Linked DNA regions of Homo sapiens: region 2 is linked to region 1. The links are contacts of gene promoters, found by promoter capture Hi-C in human tissues and cell types (Jung and others, 2019). All regions are on one chromosome and are shown on one strand. The core of a region is centred on a gene start or on the middle of the fragment in contact, and the rest is flanking DNA. Distances in the headings are between cores, read along the strand shown. Region 1 holds the start of DMC1 (DNA meiotic recombinase 1). Region 2 overlaps TPTEP2-CSNK1E (TPTEP2-CSNK1E readthrough).

The links. The method cuts DNA at HindIII sites, captures the fragments that hold promoters and counts their contacts. A contact is called where the count stands out against the background at its distance.
Region 2: a fragment that was not itself captured here is called in contact with the fragment with the promoter of DMC1 in region 1 in 1 of the 25 tissues and cell types used here (aorta).

What each region holds. Positions count from the first base shown.
Region 1 is chr22:38,568,035-38,572,135 of GRCh38, reverse strand. DMC1 (DNA meiotic recombinase 1) reads left to right here and starts at 1,953. Exons shown (of 14, transcript NM_007068.4): 1 at 1,953-2,093; 2 at 3,847-3,930. The coding sequence starts at 3,880. LOC105373031 (a long non-coding RNA gene) reads right to left here and starts at 1,636. Exons shown (of 2, transcript NR_134627.1): 1 at 1,542-1,636; 2 at 778-1,383. RefSeq lists enhancers at 1,218-1,267, 854-1,364 and a silencer at 1,668-1,957. The HindIII fragment of the contact is 22,042 bases long and covers 1-4,101 here.
Region 2 is chr22:38,325,400-38,329,500 of GRCh38, reverse strand. The region is part of intron 5 of TPTEP2-CSNK1E (TPTEP2-CSNK1E readthrough); the gene reads left to right. Among named protein-coding and RNA genes, the nearest start is that of CSNK1E, 10 kb to the right of the region's middle. RefSeq lists enhancers at 1,474-1,985, 4,033-4,101 and a silencer at 3,583-3,877. The HindIII fragment of the contact is 5,320 bases long and covers 1-4,101 here.

The sequences.
Region 1 (4,101 bases), core at 704-3,203:
TCTGGTTTGCCATGTTCTATATTGTGGATAGGAAAGTACCATTTTGCCATGCAGGATATATTTTTTTAAATATAAGCATACTTAACAATCTTTCATGGCTTCTGAGTTTTGTAGCATACTTAAAAAGATGTTTCTTATTACAAAGTAATTTTAAATATCCCATATTTTCTTCTAGTACTTTTATTATTTTATTGTTCAGATTTAATTTTTTGATCTGTCTGGAATTTATTTTGGTATAATGTGTAAAGTGTGGTTCCAATTTTATTTTTCTTCCAGATGGTTACCTAGTTGTTCTAACACTATTCACTGAATTCATCATTTCTCCACTGATGTGAAATGCCACCTTCATGATATTCAGAGTTTTTGTATGATACGAAAGACAATTTTTTTGGTTCCGATTTTAGTGGAAAGTCTTCATGTGCACTTTTTAACTGTCCTAGAGTTTGTTGTTGTTTTAAATATCTTAAAAGTTGTCTCTAACCATCGATATGATACCCAGATAAGATTTTTCTCCTCCCTTCATGAATTTGTCATTACCCAGCTCATTTTAGTTTTTTTAAGTGTACTGCACACAACCTTCAAATATTATGAACATTTCTCTCTCCCAGCTGTCACTACACCAAACTACATATGTTATATTTCCCTAAATCATCTTGCTGTGCTCTTTGCAGCTCTTCTGTAGACTGTTGATGTCTTCACCTAACGAGTTGCTCAAAAGTTCCCATAATTATTTAGGTGAGGCCTCAGAGCGAAAGCCTTTCACCACTATCCAGTTCCTCCCCCAAATGGGCATTCATCTCCATATAACAAGGACGACTGTGTTTGGGGGAAAATAACAGATTTGGAAGCACAATGGCAGTTATTTGTTGGCTCTTAAAACAATCCACCTGTTGGGGGGGTGCGTCCTACACAAAATGCCAACTGCTATTGTGGGAATGTTTTGCTATTTATTCCACCAAAATGATTCAGACAGAAAAAACAAAAAGGATCGCCCTGTACTAGGTCTTGAACCCAAAGAACTGTTTGCACAGAGATTCATCCAAGATACATCACAGCCTCCACCTCGGCAGCTGCTCTCTCAAATGTTTCCTGACTCTCCCCAAGTCAGTCTCCGCGTGAGGGGAGGAGGAGGATGCTGCCAGCGATGGCGCTGCTGGCACGAAGGCTGGCCTGCGACTTCTATTTAAAAGCTGAACCAAAATATACTTGGCGTCTGTGGTCTATTTAAAACTTCAAGTTAAGACAGAGAAAAAATTACTCTCCATCCTGAATGGGCCTCGGGTGTCTCAATCACAGACAAGAGTGGCAAATGGTGAGAGTCAGAAAGTGGGAAATTAGGAACGCTGAGGGAGCACGGCCAAACTCTGAAGCCAGCATGAAAACCTGGAGGTGAAAAGAGAAGCCATGGGCAGCGGGGGCGGGGGGAAACGGGCCCGGATTCGACCTTCTAAGCCAAGGCTCCATCTGCAACCCTCGCGACCAAGACCTATCGCCAAAGTCAGCCACCTCTGCTCATCGCCCCTCCCCCGACTCAAGGCTACCTCCTCAGAACCCCGCCTCAGGGTCTTCTCCCGGACTTTAGCGAGGTGCTCAGCTCGAGGGACGCCCCAGCTCAACGGTCTCCCTTCAAGGCCCCGCTCCTCAGCGCGCTCCTTCCACAGCGCCCCTCCCTCCCTCCCTCCGTCATCCCAGCTCGCCACCCGCTGGGGCTCCTCTTCGTTTTCCGCGCCTCAGCCCTCGCCCCGCCCCCTCGCCCTGAGCCCCCTCCAGGCCACGCCCTCTGGTCCCCCCACCTGTGAGCCCGCTCGTTCCCCGCCCTTCGGTCTTCGCCCCGCCCCCATTGCTCCCCGCCCCTCGTCGCCCTCTGTAGGCCTGCTCCCTCCCCGCCCTTCCACCCTCACCCTGCGCCCCGCCCCGGCCCCTTGGTCCTCGCCCCGCCCTCCTCGTTTGGCGCCAAACCCTGTGGTCAACGGCGCGCGGGTCTCCAGGCTCCGTGTTCTAGGCCCGAGTTAGAATCCTGTCAGCTGAGGAGGTCGGGCGGGGCAGAGGGGCTTCACCTTGAAAATCTCGGGGAGACTGTGGGTACGAGGGGGGTAAGTGGCAAAAACGAACAGCGTGCGAAGACTCTGAGGGGACGCTCGTTTTGAGAAGGCGCGCTTCCCTTTCTCGCTCCTTTTTTGGGGTCCCTGGGCTAGTGACTTTGAGCGTTCCGCTCCGACCTTTGGGGAGGAATTTTAGTGATCTTGAGGGATTTCCAACCTCATTTTCAATCGAATCGGACCTGAGTCTAGGAGAGCCCGCCTCATCCTCCTGACCAGGGAATCCGGTGTCAGGAAAATGTCCGGCGGCCGCAGGGGGTCTGCCCAGGCCTCCTGCTGAGGGAGGCGTCGAGGGCGACCCGACCGCGCTGCTGCCCCCACCAGAGGGGACAGCTGGGTCGTCTTAAACCGGGGGATTGGGGAGCCCTACTTTCAATCCAACGGTTCAGTCTATCAACGGCTCCTTGAGAGATGGGGGACAATCTTTTCATTTCATCACGGGGAGAAGAAATGAATGCTGTTTTTCTCTTCGATGGGGACAGTAAATGTGGAATTGGGGTACTCATAGCTAGCCATCTGAAGGACAGTGTCCCCGAAGATCCCATCCGAACGGTCTCGGTTGCCTTCCATCCTTTGCCGTTTGAGGTGCTGGGTGGTAGGACCCTGCTCCTGCCTTAGTATTAATGGTTCGTTCCCTTTGTTCTAGGGTCCAACCCCTGACTTTGGTATCAAATGAGGAAATGGAATCGACCAAGAAAAATGATGATTTGGACCGCATTTTATTGTAATAAATAAACACAATCACGCCTTGTGGATTCCTGAGATTTCTTTTTGAGTCTACAATGTTAAAAACTTTAACTGCTTATCAGCCTTAATATAATATTATGATCCACCAATTTTTTTTTTTTTTTTTGAGACTGAGTCTCGCACTGTCGCCCAGGCTGGAGTGCAGTGGCATGATCTCGGCTCAGTGCAACCTCCGCCTCCCAGGTTCAAGCGATTCTCCTGCCTCAGCCTCCCAAGTAGGTGGGATTACGGGCGCCCACCACCACGCCCGGCTAATTTTTTTGTATTTTTAGTAGAGACGGGGATTGGCCAGGCTGGTCTCGAACTCCTGACCTCGTGATCTGCCTGTCTCGGCCTCCCAAAGTGCTGGGATTACAGGCATGAGCCTCCACACCCGGACCACCATATTTTTAAATCTTAAAAAAATCATGAAACTAGTAAATACTGTGAAAGAAAGTATAGCTAATGTTCTATGAAACAAAAAGGTGGATGTTACAGGAGTACCCATTCATAATCAGCAGGCAGGAAGGCATTCATCATAGATGAGAAAAATAGAATCCATTTATTGAGGACAAAGTTGGAGGTGTCAGGGAGGACACAAGGAAGAATGATATAATGTCAAGGTTCCTAGAGTATTGTTGTTAAACATAAACAAGAAAGGTTAAAAGCAATATGCAATTCTAAATAACATTCAAGGCAGTAATAAAGTCATGATTAGCTGTGCAATGGAAACCAGATGATAAGTGATCACTGTTGGGGAAAGAGAAGAAACTAAATAAGCACCCCCCAATTTGCCCCTCAGGCATCTGTGTGCATGTGGGGACACACACACACATGCACACACACACACACACACACAAGAAATAATGTCACATGTCTCGCAGAAAGAAGATAGGCTGGCCTCATCTTTCCAAGCTAAATGCTTCTCTTACTGTCCTTCTAGTCCTTGTTGACTTTGAAATGAAATCAGAGGCCCCTGGACAAAGGACTACTTCTTACATAATATTTCTTATTTTCCCAGAAGTGATTATTTTTCTGTTGCCCACTTTTCAATATGAAGGAGGATCAAGTTGTGGCGGAAGAACCAGGATTCCAAGATGAAGAGGTATGACTAAAATGTTGAAAGATATATAGACATTCGATCATTCCGCAAAAATCAAGTTCCTTCCCTGTTAGCTACTATTTTTAGAAGCTGAAAGTAGAAATAACACATAGTTATATATTGCAAATATGTAACAACTTGTTTGGCAAGGATGCTAAGATTAGCTACTTAGCA
Region 2 (4,101 bases), core at 612-3,111, 240 kb after region 1:
CTGCTGGAATTACAGGCGTGAGCCACTGCGCCAGGCCCTTCCTAACTTTTATGCATTATTTGGTCAGATTCTCTTAAACTCTCTGAGCCTCGGGTTTCCTCCTTTTTTTTTTTTTTTTTTTTGACAGGATCTTATTCTGTTGCCCAGGCTGGAGTGCAGTGGCATGATCTTGGCTCATTGCAGCCTCGATCTCCTGGCCTCAAGCGATCCTCTCTCCTCAGCCTCCTGAGTAGCTGGGACCATAGGCATGTGCCACCATGCCCAGCTAATTTTTTTATTTTTTGAATAGAGACAGGGTCTCCCTTGTTGCCTGAACTGATCTTGAACTCCTTGTGAACCTCAGGTTTCTACCTGCAAAATGGGCAGGGTGATCTCCAGCTCACAGGATTCCTGTGGCATTTATTAAACCAGATTCAGTGCTGAGTACCCAGTGGGGAGCCTGCACGCTGTCCATCCAGTAAATCCTAGTTTTTTTCTCTCCTCTTGTCCATGAGCAAAACTCTAAGCTGTTCTGAGCAAAGCCATTGGCTAAATCTCCTAGTCAGCTCCTGGGATTAGAGATCCTCTTACCTCTTCCATCCTCTTCAGCCTTCTCCCCTGAGGGAGGCCTGGGTGCCATTTGACTGGTCTCCCCACAGTGGGCCCTTCCCACCCCCAAATATCCGAGGTTCCTACCGTTCAGCTATTGCTCAGGGCTGTTCCTTCCCCCCAGCCAACCACCATCCAGATCCCCCCTACATTTATTTATTTATTTATTTATTTATTTATTTAATTTGTTTATTTTTTATTGAGACTGAGTCTTGCTCTGTCACCCAGGCAGGAGGGCAGTGGCACAATCTTGGCTCACTGCAACCTCTGCCTCCCTGGTTCAAGTGATTCTCCTGCCTCAGCCTCCCGGGTAGCTGGGACTACAGGTGCGTGCCACCACGCCCGGTTAATTTTTTGTATTTTTAGTAGAGACGGGGTTTCTCCATGTTGGTCAGGCTAGTCTTGAACTCCCGAGCTCAGGTAATCTGCCCGCCTTGGCCTCCCAAAGTGCTGGGGGTACAGGCGTGAGCCACCGTGCCCGGCATCCCACCTACTTTCAAGTCCTGCCTCCTCCCTTCCACCCCCGTGTCAACTTCAGAATTTCTCTATAGACAGGGCTTAGGGAGACAGTCTGATGGCAGGGGAAGCAGGGGTCGGAGACTTGTCTCAGTGCTGTATTTGTGTAGCACTTCACATAAAATTACAAGAATAGCAACTGCCCACATCACAAAATGCCCAGGGCGAAGGGGAGACGGCTGCTCGCCAGCCATTGGCACCACCACTGCCCCCAGACACTGACTTTCCTGTGGCGGTCACTGTCTAGCGTATTCTCTCAATACTGTAGGACCCTCTTTTTTCTTGTGTCTATTCAGCCTCTCCTGTCGGATCGTCAGCTCCTGGCAAGCTGGGGCCGGCGCAGACCTCTGAGGCCCTGCAAGGAGTTGGCATCAGGAAATGCTTGTGGGTGAACGTGTGATGTGGCAGGATGATGAGTCGCACCAACTATGCCGAGCGAGGAGCGCTGCTGTGGGCATCGGGATTATTAGTCGCAGCAATCATCCTCATTCCCGGAGCCCAGCTAATGAGTGGTTGTGTGAGCTGGGAACGGGAAGCCCTGGCTTCTCAGAGGACAGAAGGAGCAGGTTTGGGCGCTGGTTGACTGCAGCACAAACAAGGGATGTTGTGATGAGCAGAGGGGTCAGAGGAGCCCATAGGGCCGGGGGTGACAGGCCAAGCTGAGGGAAGGAAGCAGGCAGAGGTGAGCTGGAGGCCGGGCACGGGTGGCCCTTTGGGGATGCCAAGGATTTGTGTAGTGCTCCCTGCTCCTGGGGACACGTGACAGGCGCTCCTGGCTCCTCTGGGAGTTGCAACAGCACAGGGAATGCTGAGTGGAGCAGGAGGACAGAGGGCCCCAGCAGAGCAGGAGGACAGGCAGCCACCGTGAGAAGGGATGGGTGGGGCAAGGTGGCCCTGAGGGAGGGCTGTTAGGGAACATCTGGCTCAGGATGGAAAGTGTCAGGCCCTGCCTTCACCCCTGAGATCACACACACAACATCACCATTGCACAAGTATTTACGGGGCACCCATGACCAGTTGGGTACCCACAGGAGCACCTATGGGAGATTTCTCTGTCTTGGAGAGACCCTAAGAGCATTAAAAATGAACAAGTTAATGTTTCAGCCAGTCATAAGTACCATGAAGAAGATAAAGCAGCTGGCCAGGCACGGTGGCTCACACCTGTAATCCCAGCACTTTGGAAGGCCGAGGCGGGCGGATCACGAGGTCAGGAGTTCCAGACCAGCCTGACCAATATGGTGAAACCCCGTCTCCACTAAAAATACAAACATTAGCTGGGCGTGGTGGTGCGCGCCTATAATCCCAGCTACTCAAGAGGCTGAGGCAGGAGCATCGCTTGAACCTGGGAGGCGGAGGTTGCAGTGAGCCAAGATCGCGCCACTGCACTCCAGCCTGACGACAGACTGACTCCGTATCAAAAAAAAAAAAAAAAAAAAAAAGCAGGATATCCCCAGTACAGGAAGGACAGAGGGGAAGGAAGCCCACTGAAGACCAGTCAAGGAGGGCTTCTGTGCAGAGGTGACTTTTGAGTTGTGATCTGAGCCCTGAGTAGGAGGCAGTCATGGAGGATTTGGGGAGATCATTGTAGGCAGAGGAACAGCCAGGCAAAGGCCCTGAGGCATGGTGAGATGACAGACAGTGAGGGAGGGAGAGTGAGGTTTGAAATGGGGTCTGAGGCAGGCAGGGGCTAGATCATAGCAGGCCCTGGGAAAGAATGTGAATTTCATGCTAAGGGAAGAAGGAGCCACTGGTGTATTTTCAGTAGCCACAGTCAGATCTCAGTGGTTAACAGGCCACTGTAGTAGCCAAGTGGAAGACACACGTGGTAAGAGTGGCTGGGTTCAGAATCCAGTTGGAAGGTAGAGCTCATGGGAGCTGCTCAGGTTTTGAATATGGGGGTAAGGGGTGCGGGGAGAGCCGTTTCCCACTGAGCCCAGATTTGTCACCTCAAGGTCTTTCTCAGCTTAGTGCCCGGGATGTGGAGTGTAGGGTCCTTGCCCATCCAGCCCTGCCCTTAGCTTCAGCTGGGGAGACTGAGAGCTTTAGCACTCACTTTGTCCAGCTCCTCAGAGAAGGGCTGTGGATTCTCCAAGGTCGCGCTGAAATTCAGACTGACCAGGGACCAAACCCAGACCTTGCTACCCTGCCCTGCTGCCTCTCCGCTGAAGATGGAAGAGGAGGGAGGAAGCCCTGGCAGGAGTGACCTGACCGGGCACGGCCCAGTGGTGAGGTTCCCTGGAAGAAGTGCCTGAAAAGAGAGCCTGGGGCCAAAGCTGTGCCCTGGGAATAGTGAGGGGTGGGTAGGATGTCATGGAAGGGTCTGGGGACAAAGAGCCAAGGCCTAGCTGGGTAAGGAGAGGAGAGTGCCCCAGGACAGCATCTTCAGGCTGGCAGGGCTGGGGGCGGGGGAACCTCTGGAGCCTGTGGGCCACAGACTCTCCATGAACAGGGCCTGAAAAGGGGAGGACCCTGAGAAGCTTCCCACCGGGGCCTTCGAGAGCCAAGACCAAGATGGGCAAGGCTAGCAGCTCCCCTGGGCCCAACTAGGTTTGCATATCTCCAACTCCCACCGTAGAAGGGGCTGGCGGTGGCCCCTCCAGAGGAAGGGTGACAAAAGGAAAGGAGAGGCGGGGGATACAGCCTGCAGGGCTCAGGTGCTCAGAGGAGCCCAAGTCAGGAGCCCTGCATTGAACTCTGCTCGGCTCCTAAGAATAGCAACATTGTAATGTAAGCATCTTCCTCTTACTCAGGGCTGCTTCTGGGCTACATTGTTTTTGTGATTTATATTATCCCCATTTTACAAATGAGACTCAAGAATTTTAGGAACTTGCCTAGTGTCACACTGTTACAAAATGGGAGGATACTATTTGTTTTTTTGTTTTGGAGACAGAGGAGTCTCCCTCTATTGCTCTATCGCCCAGGCTGGAGTGCAGTGGTGCCATCTCAGCTCACTGCAACCTCCACATCCTGGGTTTAAGGAATTCTCCTGCCTCCCAA